Regions from separate parts of the Homo sapiens genome. Here all the other regions are linked to region 3. Evidence: promoter capture Hi-C in human tissues and cell types (Jung and others, 2019). All regions are on one chromosome and are shown on one strand. The core of a region is centred on a gene start or on the middle of the fragment in contact, and the rest is flanking DNA. Distances in the headings are between cores, read along the strand shown. Region 1 has its middle 69 kb from the start of MRPL32. Region 2 overlaps HECW1 (HECT, C2 and WW domain containing E3 ubiquitin protein ligase 1). Region 3 holds the start of HECW1 (HECT, C2 and WW domain containing E3 ubiquitin protein ligase 1).

Region 1 (2,700 bases), core at 114-2,613, 110 kb after region 3:
CCTGTAGTCCCAGGTACCAGGGAGGCTGAGGCAGGAGGATTGCTTGAGCTCAGGAAGTTGATGCTGCAGTGAGCTGTGATTGCACCACTGCATTCCAGCCGGGCAATAGAGTGACATTGTCTCAAAAAAAAAAAAGCCAAAAATCAATGGCATAATATCTTCAGTGTTCTGACTTCTAGTTCCCAGCAAATATATTCTAGAAAAAAATGGTGAATTAAATATATTTTCCAGCAAACAAAACCTGAAGTAATTCACTAGCAGACCTGATCGTCAAGGAAAACTATAGGATATATTTCAAGCAGAAGAGACCTTATCCCAGATAAAAAGTTTGATAAACAGGAAAGAATAAAAATGAAATATAGATTAATCAAAATGAATATTGACTGTATATTATTTTTATAAGGTTTATGTTGTTGTTAGAACTAAAATTATATAACAGGAAGTGATTAAACTTAATTAAAATGTTCCAATATCCTTGCATTGCCCAGGAAGAAAGTAGAAGTGCAAAGTAACGTCAAACTCTGGTGAGTCAGATGCATGCTGTGATCTCAGGAATAAACTGCTGAAAAATATTAAAGAGTACATATCTTCTAAACTGCCAAAAAAAGAATAATTTTTTTAATTCAAAAAAGTTAAGAAAAGAGAGTATAGAATAAAAAATTAGAAATTATGTAGTAAAATTATAACTTCATATTAAAATATACACATATAGTATTCAATAGAATTACAAAACAGAAGAATTATAACTCAAAATAAAAAACTTATAAGACTGATAAAAACCTATATGCAATTTAAGAAAGACTTATCTTAAACAAAGATACAGAAAGATTGAAAACAAAAGGATTGACACTTTGGGAAGCCAAGGCAGGAGGATTGCTTGAGTGAAGGAGTTCAAGACCAACCTGGGCAAGATTGGGAGAAAAAAATTAAAAATTAGCTGGGCATGGTGGTGCATGCCTGTAGTCTCAGCCACTGGGAAGGCTGAGGAAGGAGGATCGCTTGAGCCTGAGAGATTGAGGCTGCAGTGAGCCTTGATTGTGCCACTGCACTCCAGCTTGGGCAACAGAGTGAGACCCTGTCTCAATTAATTAAATAATAGCGGAATTTAAAAAATGTATCATACAAACACCAAAAAAAAAAAAAAGTTGAAATAGCAATATTAATATTAAAGTGGATTTTAAGGCAACAAAAATTACTAAGTAAGGGAAGAGACACATCAAAATTGTAAAATATTTCATTACCACAGATGATACAATAATTCTAAATGTGTATACATTTAATAGCATAGTCTTACATACAATAAAAAATTTGACAAATATAAGGATAAATACACAATTAGTAGCAAATAATAAAACAAATAGGCAAAATATCAGTAAGGATTTAGGTTTCAGTAACATAATTACAAATTAGACCTAAAAGACATATACAGAATGCTGCATCCAACAGCTGCAGAATGAGCACTATTTTCAAAAGTAAATGGACCACTTATAAATATTGATCATATACTGAATCATTAAGCAAGTCTCTACCAATTACAAAAGATTAAAAGCATACAAGATCTTCTCTGACCACAATGCAATAAAGAGAGAAATATAGTTCATAAAACATCTTATGTTTTAAAGTTAAGAAAATGTTTATAAGTCATCTAAAGGTGAAAAGAAAAGCAGTAAGAAATTAAAGTTAAACCAAAATTAAAATTAAATTGAAATGAAAAAGAAAAATGGAAATTAGAAAATATTTCAAGCTAAATGATAATGAAATATTCCATATCAAAACTTGTGAGATATACCTAAAGCTGTGTATAAAAAGAAGTATTTTAGCTTTCAATGCTAAAAAGCATAAATATCCATCTCAATAAATCAGAAAAATAACAATAAAATACCAAAGTAGAAGAAAGTGAATAATAAAGACAAGAACAAAAATAAATGAAATAGAAAGGAAATATACAAATAGAATTGACAACCCAACAGTTGTCTTTCAAATTGATTTTTACTGAAGTGTATCATACGTACTAAAAAAGTCACACATCACTTAGCATATAGCTCAACAAATTTTCACAAAGTGAACATTTTTGTAAGCAACATCCAGATCAAGAAAAAGAGCACCCCAAGCATTCCTGGTGCCCCACCCTCATCCCTGCCTGATACTATGACTCTCACAATGAAACTACTAGCCTGACTTCTAATTCCATAGACTGATTTGTCTTATTTTTATTTTTATTAATGAACAAAAATTCATTTTTAAAAGATGAATGAAATTGATAAACTCCTGGTGGGAGTTTCTTATCAAATTGAAAAAGAGAGCAAGCACAGGCATGCTTCACTTTATTGCACTATGCAGATATTGCCTTTTTTTACCAAATGAAGGTTTGTGGCAACCCTGTGTTCAGCAAGTCTATTGGTGCCATTTTTCCAACAGTGTGAGCTCACTTTGTGTCTCTGTGTCACATTTTGGTAATGCTCAAAATATTCAAATTTTTCATTATTATTATATCTGTTATGATGATCTGTAGTCAGTGATCTTTGATGTTACTATGGTAATTGTTTTGGAATGGAATGCTATGAACCACACCCATATAAGATGAAAAACTTATTCAATAAATGTGTGTGTTTGACTCCTCCACAGGTTGGCAATTCCTCCATCTCTCTCCCTCTTCTTGGGCCTCCCTATTTCCTGAGACACAACAATATGGAAATCAGT
Region 2 (2,700 bases), core at 119-2,618, 68 kb before region 3:
ATGTAAAAAAATACTCAACATCACCAATCATCAGAGAAATGCAAATCAAAATGAGATACTGTCTCACTCCAGTTAGAATGGCTATTATCAAAAAGATAAAAGAAAACAAGTGCTGGTGGGGTGTGGAGAAAAAGAAACCCTTATGCAATGTTGGTGGAAGTGTAAATTTGTACAGCCATTATGGAAAACAGTGTTGAGGTTCCTCAAAAAATTTAAAATAGAACTACTATATGATCCAGCAATCCCACTGCTGAATATTTATCCAAAGGAAATGAAATCAATACGTCCAAGAGATCAGCACTCCCTTATTTATTGCAGCAGTATTCACAACAGCCAAGCCATGGAAACAACCTAAGTATCCATCAAGACATGAATGGATAAAGTATGGTATATATACACAATGAAATACTATTCAGCCATAAAAAAGAATGAAATGGTGTCATTTGCCACAACATGGATGAACCTGGAGGACATTATGTTAAGTGAAATAAGCCAGGCACAGAAAGACAAATACCACATGAACTCCCTCATATGTGGAATCTTAAAAAGTTGATCTCATAGAAGAAGAGAGTAGAATAGTGGTTATCACAGGCTGAGGAGGTTAGGGGAGAGAGAGGAATGAGGAGAGGTCGGCCAATGTGTTACAAAGTTACAGTTAGATAGGAGGAATAAGTTCAGCTATTCTATTGCACAGTAGGGTGACTATGGTTAGCAATAATGTATTGCATATTTCAAAATAGTTACAAGAGAGGATTCTAAATATTCTTGCTACAAAGAAATTATATATGTTTGAGGTGATGGATTTGCTAATTACCCTGATTTGTTCATTAAACAATGTGCACATGTACTGAGACATCACATTGTACTTCATAAACATGTATAATTATTATGTGTCGATTAAAAATAAAATAAAACTGGCCAGGCGCGGTGGCTCACGCCCGTAATCCCAGCACTTTGGGAGGCCAAGGCGGGTGGATCACGAGGTCAGGAGGTCGAGACCATCCTGGCTAACACGGTGAAACCCCGTCTCTACTAAAAATACAAAAAATTAGCCAGGCGTGGTGGCGGGCACCTGTAGTCCCAGCTACTCAGGAGGCTGAGGCAGGAGAATGGCGTGAACCCAGTGGGTGGAGCTTGCAGTGAGCCGAGATCGCACCACTGCACTCCAGCCTGGGCGACAGAGCAAGACTCCATCTCAAAAAAAATAAAAATACAAATAAAAAAATAAAATAATAAAATAAAACTTAGAAAGCAATAAAAATATAAGTCAATTTGATTACTCAAAATCCTGAAGTTTTTTGTGCACCCTCCAACCATTAAAAGGAGTGGGAGCTAGAGGACTCTACCTACACAGCTTGTCCCAGGAGCCACAGTGCAGTGAAAGTAATCCTGGGCAAACATTCATTACCAGCAGGCTCAAACAGTCACATAACCTCTGCTATAAGTTGGTGATGTCCCCATCTTTTGTTCTTTTAGGCTCTGCAAAGTGCATCTTGCATAAAAGGGAATGTTACCAACTCTGCTAAGGGCAGATAACGTAAACTGGCAAGTGCAGTTGTGAAACTCCTCTACTGATTTGGGGGCCACAGGATCAGGGTGTCAGATCTAAGGTTGCTGGAGATGTCTGATTATTTTACCCTCCACAGATAAAGCAAAGGTTCCTGTATAACATCCCTGGTCAAATTGAACCTTCATTCATTTTACCTATAAAAATTACTGCGCTAGTAAATGCACCTTTCAGGGTCGATTTACATGGTGATAAATAAATCTCAATCATGTTTTCAAAAATGAACTCTCCCTTAGGCTCTTTTATATAACACTGAGGTATGGGCTACTATTGGGAAAATTTGGATGTTATCTAACTTTCCATAGGTATAAATTAAGGCAGTCATATTCTATGCTGCAGTATTTAATACAGACAATAAGCAATACTAAATATATTTAAAACACTTCTTTGTAGTCATTTGTTCTTAAAACTAAAAAGTATAAACCTTGCATTTAGATGTATTTGCTGTCTCAGCAAAAACGACAACAACAACAACAACAACAACAACAAACTTAGCAAATATACAATTCTCCCAAATAACCAATGGTATTTCTTTTAATGGGTGAACATAGCCATGTTAAGACGTTCAGGTACCAGTAAAATATAAAGCCATTCAATTTTAGTACCACACCTAGCTCTTGAGCACAAAGAACTTCTACTGAAGCATGGCATAATTCAAGCAAAGGTTGCCATTTTTACCACACTTGGAACTCTCAGACTTGGGAGTAAGGGGCTTCTATTAATATTACAGTCTCCTTTGCTCTCAATGCTGTAGACTTCAGCTTCACCTTGATGCCGCACAAATAATACAGCTCGATTCAAGTTGGAGCCCTTGGGTGCTGCTGTCAGCCACTCTCTCCAGCATCTTGGTTTGGCTATTTTGCATTTATTATTTTCTGCGGAAAGCAAGAACCTGTGCCTTTTGAGTGTCAACAACTTTGATGTTTTCTCACTGCGGAGGAAAGGAGATGAATTATTCTGGAGAAAATGCTTTCTTTTTCCTCGGTGTTACTTGTGAAGGGCCTGGCACTTCTAAGAAAGTAGTTGATATTCTCCAAGGCTTTTTTCTCTAGACAATATTATTTTCAGTGCTTGGTGAATATGAATCAGGTATCATGCTCCATAAAAAAGATATTTTCAGGAAGTGTTCTGAA
Region 3 (2,700 bases), core at 103-2,602:
GCGCTGTGCCCGGAACCACAGGAAGCCGGGCATCTCTGCAGCCTGTGTCCCTGCCAGCTCCCCCTACGCGCTGAAATTCGGCAGGGAAGAAGTTATGGTGCCCAGCCTCTGTGTGCAAGACAGAGACACCGCGCATCATGGCTCTGAAAATCAGCCAAGTGGCCGGGACGTCAAAGCGGCAGAGCAATCAGAATGCCCTGGAGCCGGGGATGGAGGGGCCACATTGTTTGAGCCCTCGGATTTTGCTGCATTGTCACCGCCCGGGAACGTGGGGGTAGCAGGAAGCGCACCTCCAGCCAAAAATGGACCGGACGCATTCCCCCCCCCTCCCCGCCCCGGCAGCTCCCTCCCTGCCTGTCTGCAAGTCGCAATACGGTAGGCGACATGACTGCTCCCGCTAAAACTCAGGTGGCAGGCCCGGCTGAGCGGCGCAGCCGGCCGGTAACAGGGAGGCGCTGGGGGAGCACCCACACAGCGCCTCCTCCCCTCCTGCACCCGTCCATGGGAGCAAGGGCCGGACCTGGCCACGCGCCCCTCGAGCGAGCACCGGCGAGCCCGTGCGGAGGCTCTGGGCGCTCTCTGGGCTAACCACGGGCATTGCATGGGACACAATTGTTCAAAAGCGAGCCCAAGGCGAAGCGCAAATCCAGAGCTTTGGTTCACAAGGGGTGGGTGTGGGCTGGGAAGGGGGATTACGTAGGTCTCTCCGCCCCCTCCCCTGACACCTCCTCGCCACTGGGAGGGCGCTGAGGGGCGGGGGAGGCGCTGCGAACCCGCTTGGGGGCTTCTTTGTTTCTCTCCGTACCCCGCAGGAGGGCCGGGTGCGCCTGCAGTACCCAAGCCGGGGTCGCCACCCGGGGATGCCGGCCCGGACCGGGCGGCGGCGCGACCCAGGCTGACAATTGAACCTCGCGGGAGAAGCGAGAGGGTGGGGAGGAGGGTGGATCTCGGCCCCGAGAAGGGAGGGCGCTGCCGGGGCCTCGCGTGCGGCGGGGAAGCCGCCCAGAGAAGGGCGGGGGGGAAGGGGCGGCAGACAGTGTCCCCGCGCTACGCCCGCTTACCTTGGCAGCCCTGGCCTGGGCACAGATCATGCTCCTGTCAGCGCGCAGATTAGAGCTGGGGGGCGCACGTGCCCCGCATAGTGCACCGGGCGCCTGGGACTGGCTGGGGAGGGGACCCTGGCGACCGCCCGCTCTCGCTGCGCTCTGGCTGCCGGGTGCCCCGAGAGAGCGGAGGCCACGGCCACTGTCACGGCGGAGGGGCGCGCGCGGCTCGGCGAGTGTGTGCGCGAGGAGGGGGCCGGTTCGGTCAGAGTCGCACGGTGTTCCGGCTCCAACAACAGCGCCTGATGCGCGGTAACGCAGCACACTTCATCGCTTTATCCTCCCGCTTGCATCCCCTCCCTCCCTGCCTGCTCCTCTGTGGGTACCAGACTCCAGAACCAACCACAAGCCGGGCTTGCTCTCATTAGCGCTGCCCCGCCCTGCAGCCTCCGCGCACCCCCACCCCCGCCCCCGCGGTAAATATATATCGATTCTTGTTACCGCCGGCCCCATCCTTCCAACACCCAGCACGCGTACTGGGCATATCCAACACCAACCCTGGCTCCTCGGCCCTTTTGTGTGTGTGCAAACAGTGTAGCAGAAAGGATGCGGTACAGACACTCTAGGCGGGTACCCTGTGACAGGTGTTCTTGGCCTCTGTCTTAGACACTTTCCTCGCTTACCTTACACACAGTTAAGAACGCTCAGAGACACATTTCAGGAACCGTCCTGTATTTGCACAAGCACACAAAACATCGTAATGACAAATGCAAAGGATGAAAATCACCCCAGAATATCTATTGTTGGGCAAACCTAGCTCCCAAACCGCGTTTTCTATTACACTGCACACAGTGTCAGAATGCTAGAACGAGAAGGAGGCAAAGTCTAGACCCTTCCAGGTACAGCCAACTGAGATGCAAAGAGAAGTGAAATGCTGGTTACTATTGGTGGTTGGCTGCTCCATGTATGCACATTTTTGTGCATCTGGTCGACATTTGGTTTGTGTGTGTTCACATAAAATGCAGAGGCTTTGAGCACATAATCTCTATAGCCTGGGATTTTATGATCCAACCACATTCTCTACAATGCTGATTTATTCCTTCCCATTATTTTGCCCAGCATCCTCTACATGAGCTTTTTTTCACTTTCTGAGAAGTTATCTTCTTTCCCAGACCCCAAACTCCGCCTCCTCTAGAATAAACAAAGGCTTCACCCTGACTTCAGAACTCCTTACTGAAGACCTGAGTACGGACTTGTCAAAACCAAATCTCCTTCCCCTTCCACCCACAGTGGCTAGTTTCTCAGTGCCTCTCATTCCACTGACCTGCCTCTTGGCATTGATTTCACTCTTACAACTGGAACTTTCCAGAACTGGAAACTTTGGACGATGTGAAGGCAGCTTCACCAGCTGTGCTCTTTTCTGCAAGGAGGCACAGCCCTTCTCTTTCCGTATTCCACTTGGGGTGCCCAGTCCTTTCCTGACAGACCCTTTTCTTTGCCTGACAGCAGTCAGATCTTCTGGTCAGATGAGCTCAAAGCAGACCATTTTCAAACCTTAGCTAAGAATCCACACAGAAAGCTGTGCACACATTTCTCCGGATTTTACACTTGGATTAGTACCAACTCCTATATGAAGAAAACTCTCCGAGAATAGACT

The links. The method cuts DNA at HindIII sites, captures the fragments that hold promoters and counts their contacts. A contact is called where the count stands out against the background at its distance.
Region 1: a contact is called between a fragment that was not itself captured here and the fragment with the promoter of HECW1 in region 3, in 2 of the 25 tissues and cell types used here (IMR-90 fibroblasts and small bowel).
Region 2: a fragment that was not itself captured here is called in contact with the fragment with the promoter of HECW1 in region 3 in 3 of the 25 tissues and cell types used here (dorsolateral prefrontal cortex, mesendoderm cells and thymus).

What each region holds. Positions count from the first base shown.
Region 1 is chr7:43,000,043-43,002,742 of GRCh38, reverse strand. No RefSeq gene overlaps it. Among named protein-coding and RNA genes, the nearest start is that of MRPL32, 69 kb to the right of the region's middle. The HindIII fragment of the contact is 4,487 bases long and covers 1-2,700 here.
Region 2 is chr7:43,178,911-43,181,610 of GRCh38, reverse strand. All of the region lies in intron 2 of HECW1 (HECT, C2 and WW domain containing E3 ubiquitin protein ligase 1), which reads right to left. Among named protein-coding and RNA genes, the nearest start is that of MIR3943, 29 kb to the right of the region's middle. The HindIII fragment of the contact is 5,574 bases long and covers 1-2,700 here.
Region 3 is chr7:43,111,299-43,113,998 of GRCh38, reverse strand. It overlaps HECW1 (HECT, C2 and WW domain containing E3 ubiquitin protein ligase 1), which reads right to left and starts at 1,352. Exons shown (of 30, transcript NM_015052.5): 1 at 1,062-1,352. The HindIII fragment of the contact is 15,211 bases long and covers 1-2,700 here.